Linked DNA regions of Homo sapiens: region 2 is linked to region 1. The links are contacts of gene promoters, found by promoter capture Hi-C in blood cells and fetal thymus (Javierre and others, 2016). All regions are on one chromosome and are shown on one strand. Each heading gives the region's core, a stretch centred on a gene start or on the middle of the fragment in contact. The rest is flanking DNA. Distances are from core to core; before and after follow the strand shown.

Region 1 (5,849 bases), core at 2,965-5,464:
AATTCACATGGAAATTAAAAAAAAAAAAAGAGAAAAGCCAAGTCTGAAAAAGAAAAACAAAGTTTGAAAATGAACACTACTTGATTTCCAGGCATTATAAAGTCAAGACACAATAATCAAGACAGTGTAGTATTAGCATAAAGATAGACAATTAGATCAGAAGAGAAGAGGGTTCAGAAATAAATTCATACATATATGAACAACTGTCAGTCCACTTGTATGGCCATAAAGGAATAGCTGAGGCAGTGTAATTTATTAAGAAAAGAGGCTTGGCCAGGTGTGGTGGCAGCTCATGCCTGTAATCCCAGCACTTTGGGAGGCCGAGGCGGGTGGGTCACTTGAGTCCAGGTGTTTGAGACTAGCCAGGGCAACATAGTGAGACCTCATCTCCACGAAAAATAAACAAAATTAGCCTCGTATGGTGGTGCACGCCTGTGGTCCCAGCTACTTGGGGGGTGAGGGGGGAGGATTGCTTGAGCTAGGGAGTTCAAGTTTGTAGTGAGCCATGATTGTGCACTCCAATCTGGGCAACAGAGTGAGGCCCGGTCTCAAAAAAGGAAAGGCAGGCCAAAGACATGGAAAGACATTTACAAATTGAATCTCGGATCAAGAACTTGTATCTAGAATTTGTATCTAGAATATATAAAGAACTATCAAAACTCAGTAATTTAAAAAAGCAATTCTTTTAAAGGGGCAAAACAAACAGATGCCTCATCGAGTAAGACATGCAGATGGCAAAAGCACATGAAGAGATCCTTGACATCACCAATTATCACGGGTATACAAATGAAAACTACGATGAGACAGATACCCATTAAGATGGCTCAAATTAAAAACATCAGCTAAACCAAGTGTTGGTGACGATGTGAGGAACTGGAACTTTAGACACTGCTAGTAGAGATGTAAAATGGTGGAAAACAGTCAACAGGTTTCTTTTTTAAAGTTAAACATACACCTACCATATGATTCAGGAATTCCACTCCTTGGTATTTACCCAAGAAGAATGACGGCATATGTGCATACAAAGCCTTGTACACAAATGTTCATAGCAGCTTTGTGTGTAACACATAAGAAGTAGAAACAACCCAAATGTCCTTCTGGGCGAATGAATAAACTGTGGCCTATTCACATAATGCAGCATTACTCAATAATAAAAAGAATGACTATTGATGCCCATGATCACATAGAAGAATCTCAAAATAATTATGCCAAGTGAAAGAAGCCAGACAAAAGAGTACAAAGTCTATGACCCCATTTATATAAAATCATCAAAAATGCAAATTAATCTACAGTGACAGAAAGCAGGTCAGTGGTTGCCTGGGGATGTCAGGGTATGGAATGTTGGGTAAAGTTACAAAGGAGCCCACGGACATGATTAAGGGTTGTGTATATGCTCATTATCTTGATGGTGGTGGTGGGTTCAGGGGGGAATACCTACGGCAAGACTTACCACATTGTACATTTGACACACGTGCAGTTTATCACATGCCAATCAAACCTCTAGAAGTCTAGTTTTTAGAAAAAACTGTTTAAAAATCACAGATCCTTTTATAGTTCATAAGCATGATAACTGGGTACTCATGCACATGTGTGAGGTGTGCCTCCCTCAGACCTTGCTACAACGACAGCACATTACCCATCTGACATGAAAATAAATAAATAAATAATATCAAACTGTCTCCCTGAAATGTTAAAATATCCATTCATATAATACTTCTAATTCTGAGGGGTGACTGGTCAACTGACATTCACCCTGGACCCTAGGGGAAGACCTCCTGGTTCAAGTCACCTACCTGCTTTCGGGGTCTCAGGGACAGAGGGACCCAGTAAGGCAGTGCTGCTTCCACCCTGGACACAGGCAGGCGGCCCCCGAATCTGGTCTGGCATTCACAGCAGATGGCCCAGGGGCCAGGGTGCATCTGAGTAAGATCCAGAAATGACAGAACTGAGCTTGATGCTGCATTTGCAGGGAGACAGGAGGCTCTCAAGCACAGTAGATCCGTGCTCAGGAAGATGGTGTCCGGGGGCAGGGTCCCCAGCTCCTACTGCAGCTTGGAAAGAGGCAGGCTACCGTGGCTCGCCCTGAGGCCTCCAAGGTCATTTGGAGGGGGATCCCCCGGAGCTTGCAAATCAGGTGCGCTGGGATTCTCAGCTGCTTCCTGCTGTGCTACAATGAGCAAGTCTCGTGGTCCCCTCTGAAAATGGGCATGTACAAGCAGCTCTAGAGCTTATGCGCACATGAGTGCTGCCTTTATGGCCATCTGTCACACTCTGGTGTGCAAGAGCTTCCACATCCATCCCATGTGACCTTCGCAACACCCTCAGGCAGGAAGGAGAGGTGCTGCCATCACCTCCAGGGGCACACGGAGAAGCTGATGCCCAGAGCAGGTATATTAGGTGGCCTCCTGAACTCTGAGGTGTTGTGAGGGCCTGGGAGGTGTTCTGGAGGCCCAGGGATAGCTCCTGCAACCACACTTTTGTGTTTGGAGGATTCTCTCATGGGATGCAGCTTCTGGACCCACATTCCCTGCTCTCCTCACCCCACAGGGATATGTTGGGGTCAGGGCCAGTGGCTGAGGATTTGCTTTCCTTACCGAATGACGGGGGAGGCACACTTCTTTCTTGTAGGTTTGAAATGTGCTATTCCTAGAAGAGAAGAACAGAAAAGCTTAGGGTTTGTGTAAACTAGGGGGCAGGGATGCTAGAGCACAGGCCTGGACCTGTCTTCTCAGAACTGACTCTTAATAATAAAGCCCACGGGTGGTGGGGATGGGGGGATCCTCTGAGCCCAAGAAGAGTGAGAGGGTGACATCAGAAGCAGGCGTGTGCTAGCTCATGCGTGAATGTCTAGGGGCTCCTGGGGGCTGGCTGTCATGGAATCCTGCATTCCCAAGCCAACCAGCTTCAAGCTGACTCCAGCTACACTTGTGCTTGGAGCATCAGAAAAGACAGGAGCATTCCAACCTGCTGAGAACTTTCCAAGACATGTAGCTGCCAATCACATCACCTAGGATGATCTGTCAGACACCCTCAACTTACTGAAATACTGAAGAAAAAACATCGTCAAACTGTCCATTAATGAACCTCCTTCCACTATAAAAACCCGGGTGCTTTGTCTCTGGGATGACAAAGCACTTGGGGTTACACAGCCTGTGTGGCTCTTCCCTGTTCCACTCCCCAACAAACTGCTTGAATGTTGGCTGGATGAAGCGTCTCCAGTGGGTGCAAAGCCCTGCTTCCCTGACAGTAGTGGGTCAAAGTGCTTTGTATGTGGAAACCGTAAGAGCGATATAAGTGTTTTTGGGTTTCATTGTCATAATAACCATTATTATTATTGCTATTTTTGTGAGAGTAATAGGTTCACGCATCAACTCTCCCAGATAATGCTTGAAAACAGAGGATGGGGCACTGCCCTCCACAGCATCCGAGGCCCCTTCTGGTAATGACAGCACTGCTATATTCCTGGTGGGGAGGGGGGGGGCCACAGCCATCTCAGTCCTTGTAGTTCAGGTGGGCCAAACTCACCACTGCCCAGCCTGGAAAGCTGGGAAAAAAAAGAATCTCCTTTTTGTTGAGGTTGATAATCTGATAACATGTAAACCTCAGGAGGTCCTGGTGATCATCTTGCCTCCACAAGGGAAGCCAGCAAAAAGGAAGGAAGCTGAGAGATGGAGAGAAACCTTCCAGGACCATGGTCAATGTGTACCTGGATACATCCATGCCTGAAGGCCTACTTCTGACATTTTCAGTTATGTGGAACCATCAGTTGCGTTTTTGTTAAGCCAATGTAAGTGAGGTTCCTGTGGGTGGCGGTCAAGAGTTCTGCCTGTGCATAGGTCATGGAGCAATGCCGGGCCGGGAACTCACAGGCGAGGTGTCGGGTAGCCGCGGGCAGGATTCAGGACTCACTTGCCTGCCATCCTGCGCGCTGGGTGTGAGTGCCAACCTGCAGAGCCCGACGCACCCCGCGCCCGGCCCCCCGGCAGCAGCGCCTGAGGCTGCTCCAGTGGCCTCATGATGATGGTGACAACGCCGCGGGGACGGTGGGGACCGGCTCGCACGCATATGGCTTCTTATGGCTGACGCGCCCTTTCACACACACATCGTCCGCAGGCCCTGACGCCCTGGCTCCCGCCTTTCCCTCCTGCCCCAGGAGGAACCCAACCCGAGCTCAACCCCAGCCCCAACCTCAACCGCTCAGAGGAGCCCAACAACGCCCGCGCGCCCGCCCGTCCCGCTGACTAGCCCGCGCCCAGCCAATCAAAATTGGCCTTCTAGGTATGTGACCTTAGCTGGCAGCTGATTGGTCCCTCACGAGAGACGCGGGGTCAGCGGCTCAGAGCGCGGCTGTGTGGGGCTGCGGGGCTCCCGCCATGCCCGCTGGGGTAGGTCCTGCGGACCCCGGCCACTGGAGCCACTCATCATTTCCGACGGATGGGCCGGAGGGGCCGCCGGCCGCCCCAGCCAGGGTCTCGGTAGCCTGCAAGGAGAGAAAGAGGTGGGAGCAGCCCGCGCGGGGCCCTGCGTCTTGCATAGGCGCTTCTGGTAAAATCACTCCTTTATCTCAGATAATGAGTTGGCGCTGGATCGCTGCGTCCTCAGGTGGGGCTCGAATCGTGACTTTTAGAGAAATAGGTTTTCTTTCTTTTTTTTTTTTTTTAACAACATGGGGTTTAAAGGGCGCGGAATTGGAAGCAGTCGTCACCCGGAGGCCTGGGCGTGCAAGCACCGAAGCTCTGGCTGGCCCTGAGCCTCCCCACCCCACCCGCTCTTTTCGCTGGAACGCGTGTACTTTGGGCAGTTGCTGACGTGGAGACAGGACGTATGTCTTCATATTTTAGTAAAACCCAATGCCCTCTGCCTCTCTGATTATGTTCTTTAAGTTATCGCCAGTTCCAATTTGTATTTCTTGGAAACGGTTGGGTCTTCCCTCACTTTTCAGTATTTTCATGTAGACTCAAATACTCTGGATTAATATTTGTATTTGCCCAAACCATCACGAGCACCTCTTACCCTGATGGGCAATACTTCAGTGTGCTGCGTTCTGGCCACAGAGCAAACAGGGTGCTCCCAGGCACTGCCCTCTCGGATTTCTTGCCTTGTTATTTAATCATTAAGATCGTGACCTATGAGCAGGACTGTTTCCAGCCAGCACATACACATGTCCTCTCCTGGCCAGCATCCATGCTGATTAGACGGTGCCCCTGCCATACTAGCTGCCTAATATTTCAGATACCCCACCCCGTGTGTGTGTGTAAATCATGTCACTGCCCTCTTTGTAGCTAATGACAAAATTCCAAGAGTCACCATTAGCCTAGCACATTATGCCTGTCTCATTTCTGCCCACTTTGGAGCACTCGGCTTCTCTGCTGTTTTCCTCCAGAGCACACTGAAACACTGCCATAGCACAGCAGGGCATAGAAGACAGGCTCATGCTCCCCTGGACGCTCAGGCCTTCACCTCGGGCACACTAGGTCTTGTCATTCCATGTCAAGAATAGCTCTTCACTGCCCTCACCCACCCAAGAATGGCTAAAATTAAAAGGACTGACAATACCTAGTTTGTCGAGGATGTCACAGCTGGAACCCTCATACATGGCTCATGAAATTGATAAAACCACATTGGCAAACTGGTAGTATTTACAAAACCTAAACATATGAATACCTGATGACCAACTAATTCCTCAACTCACCCAAGAGAAATGAGAGCTTATGTGTACCAGAAGACATGAACAAAACTACCCACAGCAGCTTTCTTCCTGATGGCCCCAAACTGGAAATGATCCAGATGTCCATCCATAGGAAAAAAAGATTTTAAAAAGAAAGTATGGCATGTTCACAGAGAGGAAA
Region 2 (5,817 bases), core at 1,919-4,418, 330 kb after region 1:
CCCAGACCTGCGATCTAGATTCTTCCGGGACCCTGGGAGATGGCAGCAGTTGGGAGGCCAATTCCGAGTGCCTGGCAAGGGGCTCATGCAGGCCTGGTGCTTTGGGGGCAGCCGCTGTTCTGAATCGGCTGCATGACTTACGGAATTTGGGGTCCAGTGGGGCCTCTAGGCCCTAAGGAATGGGTCCAGAGGTGACTGTGGGTGGGATCGACGTGGCTTTTGGGTACCTTTAGGGGTGGGTGCAGGATGGGGCCTTTAGGGCTGGAGGAAGGTGCCCAGGGTCTGGCTCCTGTGGAGGTGAGTGTGTGAGCCAGGGGCTGGTCCCCGCCAAGCTGTGGCTGGCAGGAGCCACCTGCTGCAGGTTGGAGGAAGTTCCCCTGTGGAAAGCCACGGGCCCCACAGGTAGGCATTTGGGTTCTAAAGTAACTGAGGTTACTAAAGGGCTTTGTCAAGACTTGGGAAGGCATTTCAGAAAACCCAGAGCCTTTGCTTTCCACCGGCATTTGCTTTCCTGGGCCAGACGAGGGCCCTTGGGGTAGCCCGGAGAGTCTTGGGGCAGGGATCTGGGAGCTGCGGGGGAGTCCATGGGCTGCCCAGGCAGGAGGCTTCCCAGGGCACGTTCCCCTGCGTCTTTCTGGATGGCTTTGTGTTCTCAGCCAGGGGCAGACCTGGAGTTCCTCCAGGAAAGCTCCCAGCCTGGGTGCGGCTCAGCCCTTCCCGACCTGTCGCTAATTAAAGTTCAGCCCATTTGGTTCTGATTTTCAGTGACCTTTGATCTATAGTGAAAAACAAAAATGGTGGCTGCGGTTTGTTGGCAGAATATGTTGCTCGCGACTTCTATTGTTTTAGAGGGAATCAAGATCGATTCCAAGAAGCTGAAAGAAACATGGAATTACTACCTGACACCGAGGTCCAAACTCGCTGTTTGCCCCTCCCTGCTCCCTCAGAAATGTTCAGGCAGGGAAATAAACAGCAGCCCACGTGTGACTACTCATCTGGGGTTTTAAGAACAAATTAGAATCAGTAGTTATTTTTTCCATCATAAATGTAATACTTGTTCCACAGGAAAATAAATAACACTGAGAAGGGAGAAAGCAGCATTAGCTCTGGTCTGATGGATCGGCCGAGCGCTCTCCTTGGCATTTTGGTGAATTTCTTTCCTCTGTGTTTTGTTTTTCGACCCTTTCTATTTTGTATAGTTGCTTTTTTGACCCTAGTGGACAAGAAGCAGTTTTGGGGGCTGGGGGACAGCGGCGTCACGGAATTGAGGAAGCTCGTGGCAGCTTCCGTGTGACCTGCAGATTGGTTCATGAGTTCATTGGTTCATGAGTTCTCAGCAGCTCGAGGACTTAGTGGACAGTGCCCTGCAGGACTGAGCTTATTTCACAGCCTTGGCACTGGGTGGATGTCTGTAGGACTGGGGGGACCTGCGACCTGAGATAGTTTTCAGACGAATTCCCCTAGACATTAAGAGAAGCGGGTTCCCATTAAGGAGCCCAGGTGGCATGGACAGGGCTGGGGGCAGCACAGGTGAGGAGCTGCTCCAAGGCAGGTTGTCAGCCTCTCTGGACCTCAACTTCTAATCTCTGAAGGCCTGTGAAGCTTAGGTGGTAACAGCTCCCTTCCTGGGGCATCCAACCTCTTCCTGGGGTTTTGGGGGGCCCAGGGGCTCTGTGGAGCATTGCTGGGGGAGATGCCTACGTATAAGTGGGCATCATGCTGGGGTGAAAGCCCAGGGGCTGGGCCGGGAGGGCGAGACCTGAGACCCATGCAAAGGAGCCGGGGCCAGGGTGGGGTGGGCACGGCTCCTACTGAGTCCCCAGCCCTTGGGACGCTGGCCAGCCAGCCTTGGCATGGCCAGCATCCCTGTGTCTCCTGGGGAGGCATTTTACTTAATGGACAGAAGGACAGACAGACGGGTGGAGGGAGTGAGAGGGAAAGGATGGGTTTGCAGGCTGGTGCAGCTGTGAAACTGACGGAGCCCACCCCCTGCCAACCCCCCGACAGCCTTTGAGGCCCAGCAGCCCATGCTCCCTGGCAGGTTGCGGCTTGCCTTCTGCACTGGCGGAGTCCGAGCTGACTCCGTCCCTTCGCCCGAGCGGGCGTCGCGGGGAGGGAGGTGGTTCCTGCTTCCGCATGCGCACAACTGGGGTCTTGGATCGTAGCTCCTTTGTGAGAAAGGGACTGGCTCACCCGCCATGTCCTGCTGTCCACACACACGGCTCTGCACACCACTCACGGCCTCCTCACCGCTGTGCACAGCCAGCACGTCCATGCGCACCTGTGGAGCCAGGGTGTACGGCTGCACAGGTGCGCCTAGGTGGAGGTCTCCAGGTCACTGGAACTTAAAGTGTCCAAGAGAGGAGGTGTCAGGCCTCAAAGGGGCACTAGGAACTGGCGTCTCACCCTTGCCTCTGAGACCCGCAGACCCACATCCAGCCTGGGCTGTCGTGGCTGAGTGCCCCAGGCCGGTCGCCTCCCCTCTCTGGGCTGGGTTCCCTGCTGAAGGGGGGCGGGGCTCCCTGCTCCCTGTAGTGGCCTCGGCGTGGGGCCGGGCCTGTGGTTGCACCATCTCCATTGGTGTCATCCTCCCCCAGCCCTGCTGTGACAGGCATGGGAGGCAGGTGTGTTTGTGAGCTCACTGGTGCGACCCTTGGAGGTGGGAGGCTACACAGTATTTTTGGTCATCAGAGGATGGAGGATGAGCCTGCATTCTGGGCTGCAGGGCCTGGAGCTGTGCTTTCTCAATGGACTTAGAATTTGGGGAAAAAAAAAAGGAAAAAAAGGAGGGAAGAGAGTCTGCCGCCCTGGAGAGTGAAGCTGATGAATGGCTGGCTCAGGCGCCCACAGCCCCAGGGCCAACCCTCCACTGGAGCATGAGAGCGGCCGCACCACGTGGGCTGAGGAGTGACTGGCCCCGGGCGGGCTCCTGCCACTATCACAGTCGAGAGATGCGAGGGAGTTGTAGGGCAGCTGGCACTGTCCTCACCCGCCCCGGCCGGCAGGGCTTGTCAGGCCGCGTGAAGTGAGAAACGGTTTGCGGTGTCCTCCGCGGAGTGCCGGGCCCTTCCCCGGAGAGCAGCTCTGCAGGGAAGGGAAGTGGGTTTTCCTGGAAAACGGGGCGGGAGGTGTGGAGCTCGGAGAGACTGAGGTCCTGCACTGCTAAGGGGACTGGCCCCGGCCCTGGGCTGGGAGAGGGGGAGCTGGGACTCAGCCCAGGGTGGAGTCACCATGGGTTCTAAGGCACAGGATGGATACCCTCCTCGGCCATGTGACATCATTGTTTGGGATGCGCCCAGTGTTCGGAGCCTTCGAGGCTCTCCAGGTGCCTGGAGGGCTTGTAGAAATGGTGGTCAGGCCCCACGCCCCAGACTTTGTCTCATCATGTCTAGGTGGGGGCCCCAGCACCTGCATGCTGACCTGGTCCCCAGGACGCAGATGCTGCTGGCCTGAGCGTCCCCGGCTGTCTCCTGTCTGGTGTGGGTGCTGCCGCCGGGAGGCCTTGGCCCCACGGGGAGATGAGGCATCACACACGCAGCCACAACACGGGTCGGAGGCAGAGTCCAGCCCAGCAAGGGTGTGGCAGTGGAGACGAGGGAGGGGTGAAGCTGGTGGTTCCAGGAGGTTCCGTCTGGGTGAGACCCTCTGCTGCAGAGAGGGGCGGGAGCCAGTGGCCCCGCGGAGCTGAGGTCATGTGAGAAGGGGCTGCAGTCTCTTCTGTGTCATTCTCCTGTGGGGTCAGCCTCACCCCAGTGGGAACTCCCACTAGTGAAAGTCTGAGATGGCCCCATCCTGCCGTGTCGCCTAGCAGTGCACCACAGGGCATTCGGCCCCTCCTGCCTTCACACACTCAAGACGTTTTCATGACTCATCTCCTGCCAGGAGGGCACACACAGGGCACCTTTGCACGGCGCTGCCTGTCCTGAATGCCTCGCTGTCCCCGGGTGGACATAGGAATTCATCACAGTCCTCCTCGAAGCCCGGGTTGCTCTAGAAGATGAAACTCAATTGCTGTCCTTGATCTGCTGCTCACTAGAGGCCCTGGGTTGGGAATCGGAATGTAAATGTGTCACCCATCCTAGAGAAGAAAGTCCTGCAGTGTGACATGGCTTCATTTTCAACAGCTGAGACCCTCTGCCACAACAACTCTCACAGCCCCCTCATCCCCACCCGCCGTGGAAACCAAATAAAAGCAGAAAGCTCTGGTGGAAGCCGAGCTGGGGGCGATGGGGCAGATTGTAGCCCGTTTCTCCTTCCCGTCCCCCTCCCCACTTTGGCCCCTGGGACCTGCTCAGAACCCCAGGGTGAAGGAGACATCTCAAGTGTGACCCATTGGCTGCTTCTGCTGCGGGAGAGGGAGAGACGGGGTGGCCCATGTGAAAGCTATGCCTCCTGCAGCCCCGCAAAGCCTGCAAAAGCTCAGCCAGGATTTGATGGGATTGTTTCTGCTGGGACCCCCTCTCTGCTGCGTCTCGTGCAAACGTTGCTGTGAAGGGATGCCAAGGGGTTTTGCAAAGCAGAAACCCAAGCTGAGAGGAGGAGAAGGGATTGTTCTGGGGGCAGGCCCACCTTGATTCAGGGGGTTTCGCTTCATTGTGCTTTGCAGACGCTGTGTTTTTACACATTGGAGGTTTGTGGCACCCGTGCATGGGGCAAGCCTCTTGGTGCCGTTTTCCCAACAGCACGTGCTCACATCGTGTGTCCGTGCCACACTTTGGTAATTCTCACGGTATTTCAAGCTTTTTCATGATTATATCTGTTCATGGTGATCTGTGATCAGTGGTCTTTGAGGTTACTAGTGTGGTTATTTTGGGATGCCACACATCGCACCCATATAAGACAGTGAACTTAATAAATGCTCTGTGTTCTGACCAATCCTCCAACCAGCCGCTCCCCCATCCCTCTCTCTCCTCTGGTCTCCCTATTCCCTGAGACACAACAGTATTAAAATTAGGCCAGTTAATAACACTCCAATGGTCTCTAAGTGTTCATGTGAAAGAAGAGTCTCACATCTCTCACTTTAAATCAAAAGCTGGAAATGATAAAGCGTAGAGAGGAAGGTGTGTCAAAAGCCGAGACAGGCCTCATGCACCAGGCAGCCTAGTTTTGAATGTAAAGGAAAAGTAATTGAAGAAAATTAAAGTGTTACTCCAGTGAATACATGAATGATAAGGGAGTGAAACAATGTTATTGCTGATATGGAGAAAATTTTAGGGTCTGAAGAGAAGATCAAACTAACCACAAGCCTGATCCAGAGCAAGGCTCAACTCTAATGCTGTGAAGGCTGAGAGAGGTGAGGAAGCTGCAGAAGAGCTGGAAACGAGCAGAGGCTGGTTCATCAGGTTTAAGGAAAGAAGCCGCTTCCAGAACATAAAGTGCAAGGTGAGGGAGCAGGTTACCCAGAAGATCTGGCTAAGATTGTTGATGAAGGTGGCTACACTAAACAGATTTTCAGTGTCGATGGAACAGCTTTCTATTGGAAGGAGATTCCATCTAGGACTTTCATGCTAGGAAGAAGCTAATGGCTGGATTTGAAGGACAGGCTGACTCTCTTGTTAGGGGCCAGCACAGCTGGAAATGTTAACTTGAAGCCAGTGTTCATTGAACATTCCAAAAATCCTAGGGCCCATAAGAATTGTGTAAAATCCACTCTGTGCTCTAGAAATGGAACAACAAAGACCTGGATGGCTGCACGGCTTACAGCATGGTTTCCAGAATAGTTTTAAGCCCAGTGTTGTGATCTACTGCTCAGAAAAAGATTCCTTTTAAAATATTACTACTCACCCCGGAGCGCCCATGGAGATGTACAGGAAGATG

The links. Contacts are between HindIII fragments. The CHiCAGO score rates a contact against its expected background, and 5 or more counts as called.
Region 2: a contact is called between a fragment that was not itself captured here and the fragment with the promoter of C16orf95 in region 1, in 1 of 17 cell types (M0 macrophages). The highest score is 5.4, in M0 macrophages.

Annotation. Positions count from the first base shown.
Region 1 is chr16:87,313,178-87,319,026 of GRCh38, forward strand. C16orf95 (chromosome 16 open reading frame 95) reads right to left here and starts at 4,215. Exons shown (of 7, transcript NM_001195124.3): 1 at 3,914-4,215; 2 at 2,595-2,646; 3 at 1,794-1,919. The coding sequence starts at 4,065. It overlaps C16orf95-DT (C16orf95 divergent transcript), which reads left to right and starts at 4,332. Exons shown (of 2, transcript NR_135180.1): 1 at 4,332-4,545; 2 at 4,680-4,866. It overlaps LOC124903787 (small nucleolar RNA U13), which reads left to right and starts at 1,543; the gene lies at 1,543-1,646. RefSeq lists enhancers at 2,036-2,536, 3,793-4,242. The HindIII fragment of the contact is 6,644 bases long and covers 2,667-5,849 here.
Region 2 is chr16:87,645,476-87,651,292 of GRCh38, forward strand. The region is part of intron 2 of JPH3 (junctophilin 3); the gene reads left to right. Among named protein-coding and RNA genes, the nearest start is that of JPH3, 46 kb to the left of the region's middle. The HindIII fragment of the contact is 3,137 bases long and covers 1,601-4,737 here.